2 separate regions of the Homo sapiens genome follow, and region 2 is linked to region 1. The links are contacts of gene promoters, found by promoter capture Hi-C in human tissues and cell types (Jung and others, 2019). All regions are on one chromosome and are shown on one strand. The core of a region is centred on a gene start or on the middle of the fragment in contact, and the rest is flanking DNA. Distances in the headings are between cores, read along the strand shown.

Evidence for each region. The method cuts DNA at HindIII sites, captures the fragments that hold promoters and counts their contacts. A contact is called where the count stands out against the background at its distance.
Region 2: a contact is called between a fragment that was not itself captured here and the fragment with the promoter of ZNF615 in region 1, in 1 of the 25 tissues and cell types used here (aorta).

What each region holds. Positions count from the first base shown.
Region 1 is chr19:52,005,381-52,012,760 of GRCh38, forward strand. ZNF615 (zinc finger protein 615) reads right to left here and starts at 2,831. Exons shown (of 7, transcript NM_001199324.2): 1 at 2,761-2,831; 2 at 1,913-1,950. It overlaps LOC124904755 (a long non-coding RNA gene), which reads left to right and starts at 2,918. Exons shown (of 2, transcript XR_007067321.1): 1 at 2,918-3,099. RefSeq lists enhancers at 2,592-3,201, 3,262-3,341. The HindIII fragment of the contact is 10,336 bases long and covers 1-6,112 here.
Region 2 is chr19:53,163,834-53,170,563 of GRCh38, forward strand. It overlaps ZNF665 (zinc finger protein 665), which reads right to left. Exons shown (of 4, transcript NM_024733.5): 4 at 1-2,514. The coding sequence ends at 620. Among named protein-coding and RNA genes, the nearest start is that of ZNF347, 8.1 kb to the left of the region's middle. The HindIII fragment of the contact is 5,852 bases long and covers 1-4,645 here.

The sequences.
Region 1 (7,380 bases), core at 1,581-4,080:
TATATGTTGTTTGTAATCAATAGTGTCAGCAATAAAACTAATTTTTAAAAAATTATTTCCATGTTAAAAGAGAGGTCTATGGTTTCCGTGGCAGCTACTCAACTCTACTGTTGTAGCTCAAAAATGCCCACATACAAAAAAATAGACAAATGATTGTGGCCAGGTCCCAACAAAACTTTATTAACAGAAACAGGTGCTGGGAGATTTAGTCCATGGGCTCTAGTTGCCCAACTGTGAATTTGTGCAGAAAAGCCATATGGTCACCTAAATCAAGAGTCAGTAATATAGTATCCAGGACCTGGACCACCTGTTTTGTAAATAAAGTCTTATAAGAACACAGCTACATGCATTCCATGACATTTCATCTCAGGCTATTATCACATTACAATGGCAGAGTTGAGAATTTGGGTCTAGAATGTCACTCAGTAGAATGCAGTATAAAAAAATAATCAAAGATGACTTTTGAATATAAGGGGCAAATTATCAGTATTTGCCTAATACGTCTGTATTCCTTTAGTCAGGTGGCTGGATACAAAATTTAAATAGAAAAATCCTATATCCTCCTAAAGCATATACAGATCGAGTCAGTATTAAGAGCAGAACCTTTCTTGGGAACAATTTAACATTCTATTGAAAATTGCCAATAAAGGTATACCTGGTAACCCAAAACCCCATTCCTAAAACTTTCTTAAAAGGTAATATTGGCAAAAGTGTGCTATCTGACAGGTCATTTTTACTTTCTTCACTTGATTTTTCATAGGGAAAACACAGGTTTACATCAGAAAAATATTAGCATTCTACATTTAAAATAAAATTGCTGATGGTAGTTCAGTAATATAAGTTTACGGCTTTAAATGTTTTCATTAATAGAAAAAAGAGAGAAACCAGGCGGGAGGAAGGGAGAGAAAAAAATGAATATAAATACAAATTTTACAAAAGACAAAACCAAAAATAATCCTCAGAGATAATCGTGAGGAAAAGATGTTTAACTCCTCTTTTGGCCAACAAGTAAAGCGACACAAGTTATGCCAATCACACAATGAGCAAGAAGCAGAATCAGGGCTGAAAATCCACTTTTGTTTCACTTCAAAATCCACTTTTACTCTACTTTATACCGAACCAAAATTATCTGTAAATCAGATGCCTCCCTATTAAGTAAATAAATAAAGCAATTAAAGGGCTATTAGTAGAATTCTAGTTAATCATATACAGAATTATTTAGAGGAATGGTACTTATGTCTGTAACTTACTTTGAAATATACCAAAATCGACAACAAATAAGGAATGATTCACAAACAGAGGAATGGATGAATACTTAGAAAACCAGTAGAGCTGATCTAATACAATGTTAATGGTAAAAGCTAGGTGGTAGGCATATTGGTATTAACATTAAACTTCTTTCAATATTTCCATAGGTTCAAAAATTTTCACAAAATAATATGTTAGGCAGAGAGAAAAATATTGTAATACTAAGAATTAAGATGACCAAATATAAAATAAATATTTAAAATTAATTTATCTTTTGTTATAGATTATAAGGAAAGGGGAGTCAGAAAGCAATACACTGCAATAAAAGTAATAGTCTAGATTGAAGATTAAAGGCAGGAAAAACAAAATTCATGGATAAATGGATAATCATAAAATGTTCCTAAAAATAATACCTAAACATTTTAAAACATTTCACTTCTATCCAAATGTACGCATAAACTTAATGTGAATGCACTTATAGTACCACCGGCTCAAACAGTAAAAACAACTTCTAAATGTTTATTACATAATATAAAGCGAAAAAGATAATAGTACCATTTACATAATTTATCTGAATTATGAATATTAAGCACATAACATACACGTCTAAAATTGAAATATTCTGAAAATTTGACAAAGGTTATCTTTGAGTAACCGAGCTTACCATGGCAGAGATGTTATCTTACTTGTGTCAGAAAGAACCTGAAAAGAAATATCCAAGAGGATACGCTGGAAACTTGCAGGACAAAGGGTAGAAGCCGCATCTTAAATATAAAACATACTACTTTTAGGTATGCTAGATGACTGATCTCGCCAAAAACTTCCATTTCTGAGGATTCAAGACCAAGGGGTGATGGAAGGTGCCAAAGGGGATTTAAAAACCAGTCGTGGAGAAGGGTCTTGGGCAGAAGGGGAATGCTAATGAGCATCAATTCTGTTCCAGCAGCCAGGGCTGGGGCTAACCCATCACCTGCCATGGTTCCCAGGCCTCCAGAGCTGCAGCCCACATCGGAATCTGTGGCGCTACCACCACCGCCACCGGGATTAATTCCAAAACCTGGATCAGAAACCTCCGTACCTTAACCCCCAAGACAGTTCCTCAATCATTTAGTCCCAAACAAAACCTGAACCATAAACCGATTCGCTGACAAAACAAACCCTCCAGTTCGCAATCACTGAGCCCCGCCAAAGGACAACACCAAAGACACCAGAATGTGACTTGGGCACTCAGTAGCGGATCTCTAGAGATCTTTAACCACAAACTACACGAGGACCCTGTGACTGGTCCCAGAGGTACCCCGATCACACACACACACACCCTATCACGGACCTCTTGTAGTTCCCCTGCGATAGGAATCGGACCCACGCTAAGCTCCTGAAAGAATTCCACTGGCGTCGCCAAACGCTGGCGCCGACAGATACCAGTCCATCACCACTGTCCACGAACACGCCCAGCCACGGACAGAATTTCCTCCCCCGTCACCACAGCGACCACCCAGTGACTGAACTTACTTCCCAGAACTTGGTGGGCTCCGGCCTCATCTCTCGGCCTCCTCAGTGCCTGACGGCGACTATCCAGGGTCGGAGGCGTTCCCAGCGTTTGCGCAGATGCAAGATGGCCGCGCCCTCGTCGCCTTGGCTCCATGGGGGCCGCCATCTTTGAGTATCTGACGTACACAAGGCAAAGGGCGCGTTTTGGCGCTGGTGACCGGGGGTGACCGGGGGTGACCGGGGATGGCCGGGAAGATGAAAGAGCACTGAAACTGTCCCATTTCCTGGCACCTCAACCCTTCATAAATACGGGTCCATATACAGAGGCTCCAGTTTACACAAGACAAAAATGGCGTGGAGGTAAATCCCTTTCAGCAGCTGAATAGAAGGCTAAGATGGCCGCGACGTTTACACTTTGTACAAAGGTTAGGAAACAGTTCCTTGTGAGGGAAAAGGAGAACCGGCCGAGAGGGGACACTTCGGCCAAAGCCAGATTTCTAACAAAGTAGCTTGAAGCGCCTTTTGAACGCAGAAGAGGGCTGTTAGCTACGCTGACGGAACAGGGGTAGCAGTCACAGACTAGGTAATGAAAACGGTTGGAACGTGCCAAAATTATGTTGGGTGAAAGGCATGGGGAAAAGCCAGTAAAAGCCAGAAAGTATAGTTCCCAAGGCGGAGGGGAGAGCCTGGGACCCAGGTGGAGCCAAATATGAGGGCTGGACTCAGGAGAAGTGGCCAGAAATTAAGGGAACAGGACCACTTCAGTGAGAAAAAAAAGGTTGGGAAAGAGGCCGGGCGCGGTGGCTCACGCCTGTAATCCCAGCACTTTGGGAGGCCGAGGTGGGCGGATCACCTGAGAGCGGGAGTTCGAGACCAGCCTGACCAACATGGAGAAACCCTGTCTCTACTAAAAATACAAAATTAGCCAGGCATGGTGGCGCATGCCTGTAATCCCAGCTACTCGGGAGGCTGAGGCAGGAGAATCGCTTGAACCCGGGAGGCGGAGGTTGCTGTGGGCCAAGATGGCGTCATTGCACTCCAGCCTGGGCAACAGGAGCAAAACTCCATCTCAAAAAAAAAACAAAAGAAAGAAAGGTTAAGAAGGAGATCACGTTATACTACGTGTGCCAACCGCGAATAGTATGTGCAAAGTCATGGCAATGCTGAACTGTAAATATAAATCCAACCAAACTTCCTATATTAGAAGAATGAGAGAAAGGAAATGCCTGTGTGAATCTATGTGTGTGATATAGGTATCAGTATATAAATATACAGAGAAATTGTCAAACTATTTTTCAGAGTCAAGTTCGTGTTCCATTTGCTCTTCTCACCCTTGGTATATGAGAGTTTTTCTTTTTTTTTGTTTTTTTTTTGTCTCTTTTTGAGGCAAGGTCCACTCTGTTGCCCAGTCTGGAGTGCCTGGGGAGATCACAGCTCACTGTAACTTGGAACTCCTGGGCTCCTGAATAGCTGGGACTACAGGTGGGCACCACCACACCTGGCTAATTTTTTAATTTTCTGTAGAGACAAGGGTCTCACTATGATGCCCAGCTGGTCTTGAACTGGCCTCAAGCAGTCCTCCCACTTCATCCTCCAAAAGTGCTGGGATTACAGGTGTGAGCCACTTCACCCTTCACCCGGCCTATAAAGAGATCTGAAAAGAAATAAGAAAAAAGATGGGCGCGGTGGCTCATGCCTGTAATCCTAACACTTTGGGAGGCCAAAGCGGGAGGATTGCCTGAGTTCAGGAGTTTGAGATCAGCCTGGCCAACATGGCGAAACCCCATAGCTACTAAAATACAAAAAAAATTAGCTGGGCATGGTGTCTCAGGCCTGTAGTCCCATTTACTTGGAAGGCTGAGGCACGAGAATCGCTTGAACCCAGGAGGCAGAGGTTGCAGTGAGCCAAGATCATGCCACTGCACCCCAGCCTGAGAGACAGAGTGAGACTCTTGTCTCAAAAAAAAAAATAAATAAAAATAAGGAAAAGATGATCAACTTAAAAGCTCCCTAAAATTTTCTATAAATACATGAAGGAAATAAACAGGACACTTTTTTTAATGTAAATGATCCTAAACAATTTAAAAAATACCAGTTTTACTAATATTCAAACAAATGCAAAGTAAACGTGAAATATAAATGTTTTAACCCTTATTAAGATTTGTAAAGATTGAATGACAAATCATATTTAGATTATAAGGCCATGGAACAAAGGCATTCTGTTATGCTAAGCCTCTTTAAGTCTTCTTTTTCTGCATGGTAGGTAATAATGTTGTCAATTACATACTGCTTTAAATGAATTGAGATATTATCATACTGGTCATAATTCGAAGTTCTTAAGCATTACATTATTTCTAGGTATAGGATTGTGTTTCTATATAAATTCGTAAAATGTTTTTGTAGTACAGTCTGTTATTACCCAGTTTAAACTTTTCCTTCTCCTTGAGCCATGAATTTTAAGAATTGATTCAATAGAACTTTTCTTTGTGAGAACAAATATGTGCAAGGATATTTATGGTATTGATCTGACAATTATAAGGAAACAAATACTTTTGTGGTTATTGCATAAATTTATTCTTGCATCTCTATATTCACATCTTTGGATAGTATTCTCCATAGTGACTGACTAATGTGTCCAATAGGACAGTAGCAAGTGTAACACAAATGGAGGTGAGAAATAAGCTTGCTCATCAAGGCTTGCTTGTCTCTTAGAGATCTTCCAACACATTGTAAGAAAGCCCAGACTAGCCTCTTGTTGACTGTGTAAATAAAGGCCTCATCCATTCCAGCAGAAGCCCAAATATGTGAAAAAAGCTATTTAGACCATGCAGCCCCAGTCAAAATCCAACCACTAGAGCCTCCGGCCCAGCAGTCCCAATTGTTACTAAACTCTGTGGACAAACATAATGCCATGAGTGGGTGGGGGTCACCTAATCTGCCATCCAAGTGCTTATCCCTGCTCCTAGCCAAGCAGGACTTGCCAGCTTGGGTGGTGTCCAAGTAGGGAGGGGCCCTCACTCTTGGATCACCATAAGAGTTGAGACAGCTGGGTCTGCAGGACATTGGAAAAGTCGGGTGTGCCTTCCTCTGTAGGGCCACCTGGGAAGGATACAGCTGTCTGCAAACCATGATGTCTGCCTGAGGGAGCCCCATGAGCAGAGGATGCCCAAGGCCTTGGGAACCCACGCCTTGCACTAGATTTAATGACTACCCTGCTGGGTTTTGAACTTGCATGGAACCTATAGCCCTTTCTTGTGGCTTTCTCCCTTTTGGAATGGGAATGTTTACCCAACGTCTATGCCCCCATTGTATCTTGGAAGCAAATAACTTTTTATTTTACAGGCTCATAGGTAGAAGAGACTTGCCTTGTCTCAGATAAGACTTTGGACTTTTGAGTTAATGCTGGAATGAGTTAAGACTTTGGGGACTCTTAGGAAGGCATGATGGTATTTTACAATGTGAGGACATGAGATTTGTTGGGGAGGGAGACCAGGGGCTGAATGATATAGTTTGGATATTTGTCCCTGTCCAAATCTCATGTTGAAATGTAATTCCCAATGTCAGCCGGGCGTGGTGGCTCACACCTGTAATCTCAGCACTTTGGGAGGCCGAGGCAGGTGGATCACAAGACCAGGAGATAGAGACCATCCTGGCTAACATGGTGAAACCCTGTCTCTACTAAAAATACAAAAAAAAAATTAGCTGGGCATGGTGGCGGGCGCCTGTAGTCCCAGCCACTCGGGAGGCTGAGGCAGGAGAATGGTGTGAACCCAGGAGGCAGAGCTTGCAGTGAGCCGAGATCGTCCCACTGCACTCCAGCCTGGGAGACAGAGCGAGACTCCATCTCAAAAAAAAAAAAAAAAAAAGGAAATGTAATCCCCAATGTTGAAGGTGGGGCCTGGTGGGAGGTGTCTCAGTCATGGGGGCAGATCCCTCATGGCTTGATGCTGCCCTTGCAATAGTGAGTGAGTACTAGCAAGATCTAGCTATTTGAGTGTGCAGCACCTACCCCCTCCACTCTGTCTTACTCCTGCTCCCTCTTCACCTTCCACCATGATTGTAAGCTTCCTGAGGCCTCCCCAGGACCAGATGCCAGTGCTATGCTTCCTGTACAGCCTGTAGAATCATAAGCCAATTAAACCTCTTTTCTTATAAATTATCCAGCCTCAAGTATTTATTTATAGCAATGCAAGAATGGCCTAAAACATGCTGTCTCTACAAAAAAAAAAAAAAAAAAAAAAAAAGCCAGGCATGAGGGTGCACACACATAGTCCCACCTACATGGGAGGCTGACGCAGGAGGAACACTTGAACCCAGGAGTTTGAGGCTGCAGTGAGCTATAATCGCACCACTGCACTCCAGCCTAGGCAACAGAGACTCTTTTTTTTGTTGTTTTTGTTTGTTTTTCAGACAGAGCCTATTCCGTTGCCCAGGCCTGGAGTGCAGTGGCAGGATCTCAGCTCACTGCAACCTCTGCCTCCCAGGTTCAAGTGATTCCTGCCTCAGCCTCACAAGTAATTGGGATTACAGGCGCCAACTGTAGAGCGCCCGATCCTGTCACTGTTTGGGGCGCCACTACGTAACCCACAAGGACCTAGGGGGACTGAAAAAAGTGGGGGAAACGGGAATAAAAGAGACAAA
Region 2 (6,730 bases), core at 470-2,969, 1.2 Mb after region 1:
TCCTATGAATCCTCACCTACAGTTGTGGTCCAGGAGTAATAGTCTCAGCATGCATGTTACGTTTGTGTGACTTCATCAAAGATGTATCTTTTGATGCGTATTGAGCTCTGAGACCTGGATAAAGCTTCTGTCATACATAGTATATTCACAGGATTTGAACTCTGATGTCTGTTAATGCTTAAACTCATCAGGAGTTTGCCACAGTCACTGTATTTGTAAGAATTGTCTCAAGAATGAATTCTCTGATGTTGTGAAAGAATTTGTGGCTGAAAAACTGGCCGCACTCCTTTGTAAGGTTACTTTTTTTTTTTTTTTTTTTTTGGAGATGGAGTTTCACTCCTGTTGCCCAGGCTGGAGTGCAATGGCATGATCTCGCTCACTGCAACCTCCGCCTCCCAGGTTCAAGTGATTCTCCTGCCTCAGCCTCCCGAGTAGCTGGGATTACAGGCGTGCACCACCACACCCAGCTAATTTTTGTATTTTTAGTAGAGACAGCGTTTCACCGTGTTGGCCAGCCTGGTCTCGAACTCGAGACCTCAGGTGATCCCCCCGCCTCGGCCTCCCAAAGTGCTGGGATTACAGGCGTGAGCCACCACGCCCGGCGTCCTTTGTAAGGTTTCTATCCACTATGAATTCTTCGATGTTTTGCAAGGTTTGAATTTTGAGTAAAGACCTTGCCACATTGGTTACATTTGTAAGGTTTGTCTCCAGTATGGACTGCCATATGGGTAGTTAGGGTTGAACGAACACTGAAGGCTTTCCCACACTCATTACACCTATAAGGTTTTTCTCCAGTGTGAATTCTTCTATGATTTGCAAGATGTGAATTTTGAGTGAAGACCTTGCCACATTCATTACATTTGTAAGGTTTTTCTCCAGTATGGATGACCTGATGGGTAGCTAGGTTTGAATGTACACTAAATGCTTTGCCGCACTCATTACACTTATAAGGTTTCTCACCAGTGTGAATTCTCTGATGAATTGCAAGGTACGAATTGTGTCTGAAGACCTTGCCGCAATCATTACATTTGTATGGTTTTTGTCCAGTATGTATTGTCTGATGTATAGTTAGGCTTGAATGAACACTAAAGGCTTTGCCACACTCATTACACTTGTAAGGTTTTTCTCCAGTATGAACTCTCCAATGCCTTGCAAGTTGTGATGTTTGACTGAAGGCTTTACCACATTCATCACACTTGTAAGGTTTCTCTCCAGAATGAATTCCCCGATGACTTGCAAGGTGTGAATTTTGTGTGAAGACCTTACCGCAGTCATTACATTTGTAAGGCTTTTCTCCAGTATGAATTGCCTGATGGGTAGTTAGGCTTGATCGCACACTAAAGGCTTTGCCACACTCATCACACCTGTAAGGTTTCTCTCCAGTATGAATTCTTCGATGATTTGCTAAGTGTGAATACTGAGTGAAAACCTTGACGCATTCATTACATTTGAAAGGCTTTTCTCCGGTATGGATGATCTGATGCTTAGTTAAGTTTGAATGCATACTGAAGGCTTTCCCACACTCATTACACTTGTAAGGTTTCTCACCAGTATGAATTCGCCGATGCTTTGCAAGGTATGAATTGTGCCTGAAGACCTTGCCACATTCATTACATTTGTAAGGTTTTTCTCCAGTGTGGATTGTCTGATGGGTAGTCAGGCTTGAGCGAACACTAAAGGCTTTGCCACACTCATTACACTTGTAAGGCTTCTCCCCAGTATGAATTCTTCGATGACTTGCAAGGTGTGAATTTTGAGTGAAGCACTTGCCACATTCCTTACATTTGTAAGGTTTTTCTCCAGTATGGATGACCTGATGTGTAGTTAGTTTTGAATGTGCTCTAAAGGCTTTGCCACACTCATTACACTTGTAAGGTTTCTCTCCAGTATGAATTCTCTGATGACCTGCAAGGTTTGAAGGTTGACTGAAGACCTTTCCACATTCATTACATTTGTAAGGTTTTTCTCCAGTATGGATGACCTGATGGATTGTTAGGTTTGAACGAACAGTAAAGGCTTTGCCACACTTATTACACTGGTAAGGCTTCTCTCCAGTATGAATTCTCTTATGACTTGTTAGCCGTGAGTTTTGACTGAAGACCTTGCCACATTCATCACATTTATAATGTTTTCCTCGATTATTAGGAGACTTCTCAACTTGATTGTATTCATAAATTTTCCCTTCATGTTGAAATTGCTGCAGTTCAGGGAGATGTGACTGAAAGCTTACTCCAAGCTGATTTTCAATATGCCTGTTTCCTGCAGCCCTTCTATCACGTTGAGCTCTTCTACCAGGGAGATTTTCTTTTTGCAACATAAGTACTGTTTTATAATTTCCTTCATCATCTTTCCACTGACACTCAAAGTCGTATGTATTTTTCTGAACTTCCTGGAAGGACAAGCCTACAGTGTCACAGCTTTCAAGTCTCTCCAACTTCACCGTGTAGAACGCTTCTCCCATATTGTTCTTCCCCTTTGGTGGCAAATCCGTGTTTACACATTTACAAGAGATATCTGTAAGATATAAACAACCATAGATTTCCAGTTAACTATAGTAGGTAAATAACTATTTCCCATTGAAAAACCTAATGTTACACCAAAAGTAATAGTTATGTTGAACAGACTTACGATTCTTCAGAACCATAATTTTCCAGAACACAAAAGGAACAGGATTCCTTATCAAAGAAAAGGTGGTAACATGTAATTCAAATAGTAGGGGATCCTAGTTTTAAACATTCTGTGAACAAAACACTCATATTGTGCAAACCCATATTAGCCCTGAAAGGAGTATTTTTCAACCATGACCCAAGGCTACCAATTGGCAGTATATTTTATATGGCTGTCACAGAATTCAAGAGAAATAATTCTTAGATTGTGCCTATTTAAAGCATATTTGTTATGCATAAGTAAATGCTGAAGCACAACATGATATACTCTAATGGCAAATAACTCACAGCAAACATATGTAATGAATAATTAAAGAACTAGTAATTTTGAATTGGAAAACAATAATAGCACTGAAAAAACGAGGAGGAATTCAATTTTAAAATGTCAGAAAAAACTATTTTTCTGAATACCTGTTATAAAACTACATACCCCTATATACCCACACAGAGCAAACATTTTGCAACATTAACAAGTGGTATATAACAGTTATATTTCTTTCTTTCTTTCTTTCTTTTTTTTGAGAAGGACTTTTGCTCTTGTTGCCCAGGCTGGAGTGAGTGGTGCAATCTCGGCTCACCGCAACCTCCGCCTCCCAGGTTCAAGCGATTCTCCTGCCTCAGCCTCCTGAGTAGCTGGGATTACAGGCATGCACCACCAGGCCAGACTAATTTTGTATTTTTAGTAGAGACAGGGTTTCTCCATGTTGGTCAGGCTGGTCTCGAACTCCCGACCTCAGGTGATCCCCCCGCCTCAGCCTCCCAAAGTGCTGGTATTACAGGAGTGAGCCACTGCGCCCAGCCCCAACAGTTGTATTTCTTACAAATGGTAAAAAACCATCCTCTATCAATAATAATCGAAATTAAGAAAATATTTTAGCAACTCAGGATATAAGCAGTAGGCAAGAATTAGTAACCGTGTTTACAGGAAGTTATAGTCTGTGGATTGTCAACAATTTCTCTCTCTTTTTTTTTGGAGACAGAGTCTCGCTTTGTCACCCAGGCAGTGGCGCGATCTCGGCTCACTGCAAGCTCCGCCTCCCGGGTTCCCGCCATTCTCCTGCCTCAGCCTCCCGAGTAGCTGGGACTACAGGCGCCCGCCACCGCGCCCGGCTAATTTTTTGTATTTTTAGTAGAGACGGGGTTTCACCGTGTTAGCCAGGATGGTCTCGATTTCCTGACCTCGTGATCCACCCACCTCAGCCTCCTAAAGTGCTGGGATTACAGGCGTAAGCCAGGGTGCTTGGCCAACAATTTCTCTTGAGAAAAGAGGAGTCTGCCGGGCGCCGGTGGCTCCCGCCTGTAATCCCAGCACTTTGGGAGGCCGAGGCGGGTGGATCACGAGGTCAGGAGATCGAGACCATCCTGGCTAACACGATGAAACCCCGTCTCTACTAAAGATACAAAAAATTCGCCATGCGTTGTGGCGGGCGCCTGCAGTCCCAGCTACTCGGGAGGCTGAGGCAGGAGAATGGCGTGAATCCAGGAGGTGGAGCTTGCAGTGAGCCGAGATTGTGCCATTGCACTCCAGCCTGGGCGACACAGCCTGACTCCCTCTCAAAAAAAAAAAAAAAAAAAAAAAAAAAGAAAGAAAGAAAGAAAAGAGGAGTTCTACTTCAGAACCAGCACAGGATATAAGAACTGGAATATAATTTTTTTTTATGAAATAAAACTGTCTTTATTTGCAGATAACATAATCATCCTTGAGAAAATTCAATATACTCTACAAAAATGCTGCTAGAACTAGTGAGTTTAGCAAGGTTGAAGAATACATTATCAATACCCCAAAGAATCAATTTTATTTCTATATACTAGCAATGAATAATCAGAAAGTTTTCTAAAATGCAGTTTGCAATAGCTTTAAAAACATTAAATACTTAGAGAAAAGTCCGACAGCAGATATGAAGAACCTATACACTAAAAACTATAAAATATTGCAGAGAGGAATTAAAGAAGACCTAAATAAATGAAAAGCTAAATATATCTTGTTCAGCATTTAGAAGACTCAATATTGTTAAAACAGCAACACTCCCCATTTAGCCTATTGATTCAACACAATCCCAACCAAAATTCCAGCATGTATTTTTTGAGAAATTAACAGGCTTTCTAAAATTCATAGGAAAATGGAAAGGATCTAGCATAATTAAAACAATTTTGATAAAGAAGAAAGTTGTAACACTATCACTACCTGCTTTCATTATAAAAGTGTAGTCATCAAGACAGTGTGATTATTGTTGATTAGACAAATATCAAATAGATCAATGGAATGAAATAGAGAATACTGAAATAGACTCACGTTATATAGACAACTGATTTTTGACAAAGAATAAATGGCAATTCCATGGAGAAAAGACAGTCTTTTTAAAAAATGGTGCTGAAACAATTAGATCTTCATATGCAAAAAAACCCTTTTGTTTATACCTCATTCCATATAGAAAAATATACTCAAATAGATCAGATGAAAACCTAATGTAAAATCTAAACCATAAAACTTTTAGAAAACCAACATGAGGAAAAATCTGTGGAGCCCTCGGATCAAGCAAAGATTTCCTAGATATGATACCACAATCATGATCCATAAAAGAAAAAAAAGAATTAATTTATAAAGACACACTGTTAAAAGAATGAAGACTCGGACTGAGGGAAAATATTCACAAAGCACAAATCTGATAAAGACTTTGTATCTGGAATATACAAAGAACTCTCAAAGTTCAATATTAAGAAAACAAAAAGCCCAATTTTAAACATTGGAAAATGATTTGAACATACACTGCACAAAAGAAAATATTAATATATATAGATAATAAGCACATTAAAAGATATTCAACATCATAGTCATTAGGAAAATACAAATTAAACTACTAAATGTTGATTAGAAAGGCTGGAATTTAAAACTAGCAATACCAAGTGTTAACAAGGATGTGAAAAAACTAAAATTCTCACACACTGGTAGTGGGAATGTAAAAGGCTACAACCACTTTGGAAAATAGGTTGGATGGCTTTAAAAAAAATTTTTTTAATGGAAATATTTCTTTTTTTATTATTATTACTATACTTTAAGTTTTAGGGTACATGTGCATAATGTGCAGGTTAGTTACATATGTATACATGTGCCATGCTGGTGTGCTGCACCCATTAACTTGTCATTTAGCATTAGGTGTATCTCCTAAAGCCTATCCCTCCCCCTTCCCCCCACCCCACAACAGTCCCCAGAGTGTGATGTTCCCCTTCCTGTGTCCATGTGTTCTTATTGTTCAATTCCCACCTATGAGTGAGAATATGCGGTGTTTGGTTTTTTGTTCTTGCAATAGTTTACTGAGAATGATGATTTCCAATTTCATCCATGTCCCTACAAAGGACATGAACTCATCATTTTTTATGGCTGCATAGTATTCCATGGTGTATATGTGCCACATTTTCTTAATCCAGTCTATCATTGTTGGACATTTGGGTTGGTTCCAAGTCTTTGCTATTGTGAATAGTGCCGCAATAAACATACGTGTGCGTGTGTCTTTATAGCAGCATGATTTATAGTCCTTTGGGTATAAACCCAGTAATGGGATGGCTGGGTCAAATGGTATTTCTAGTTCTAGATCCCTGAGGAATCGCCACACTGACTTCCACAATGGTTGAACTAGTTTACAGTCCCACCAACAGTGTAAAAGTGTTCCTATTTCTCCACATCCTCTCCAGCACCTGTTGTTTCCTGACTTTTTAATGATTGCCATTCTAACTGGTGTGAGGAATGGAATATAACTTTTTTAAAAAAAACTTTTATTGTATAATGGCAAACTACAGGTGTATATATTTATGGGGAAAAAATGATGTCATGATGCATATATAGAATGTGGAATGATGGAATCACGCTTATTACCACATCCATCATGTGAAAAATGTGTCATTTACTCTTGTTTAATTGAACCTTTGTGTTGAAACGACAAACATCTTCCTAATCTCCCCAACCCCACCCTCTTGTAACCAACGTTCTTCTTTCTATGAGTTCAAGAGGTTTGGATTCCACATATAGGTAAGAAGGTGCAGTACTTGTATTTCTGTGCCTAGATTAT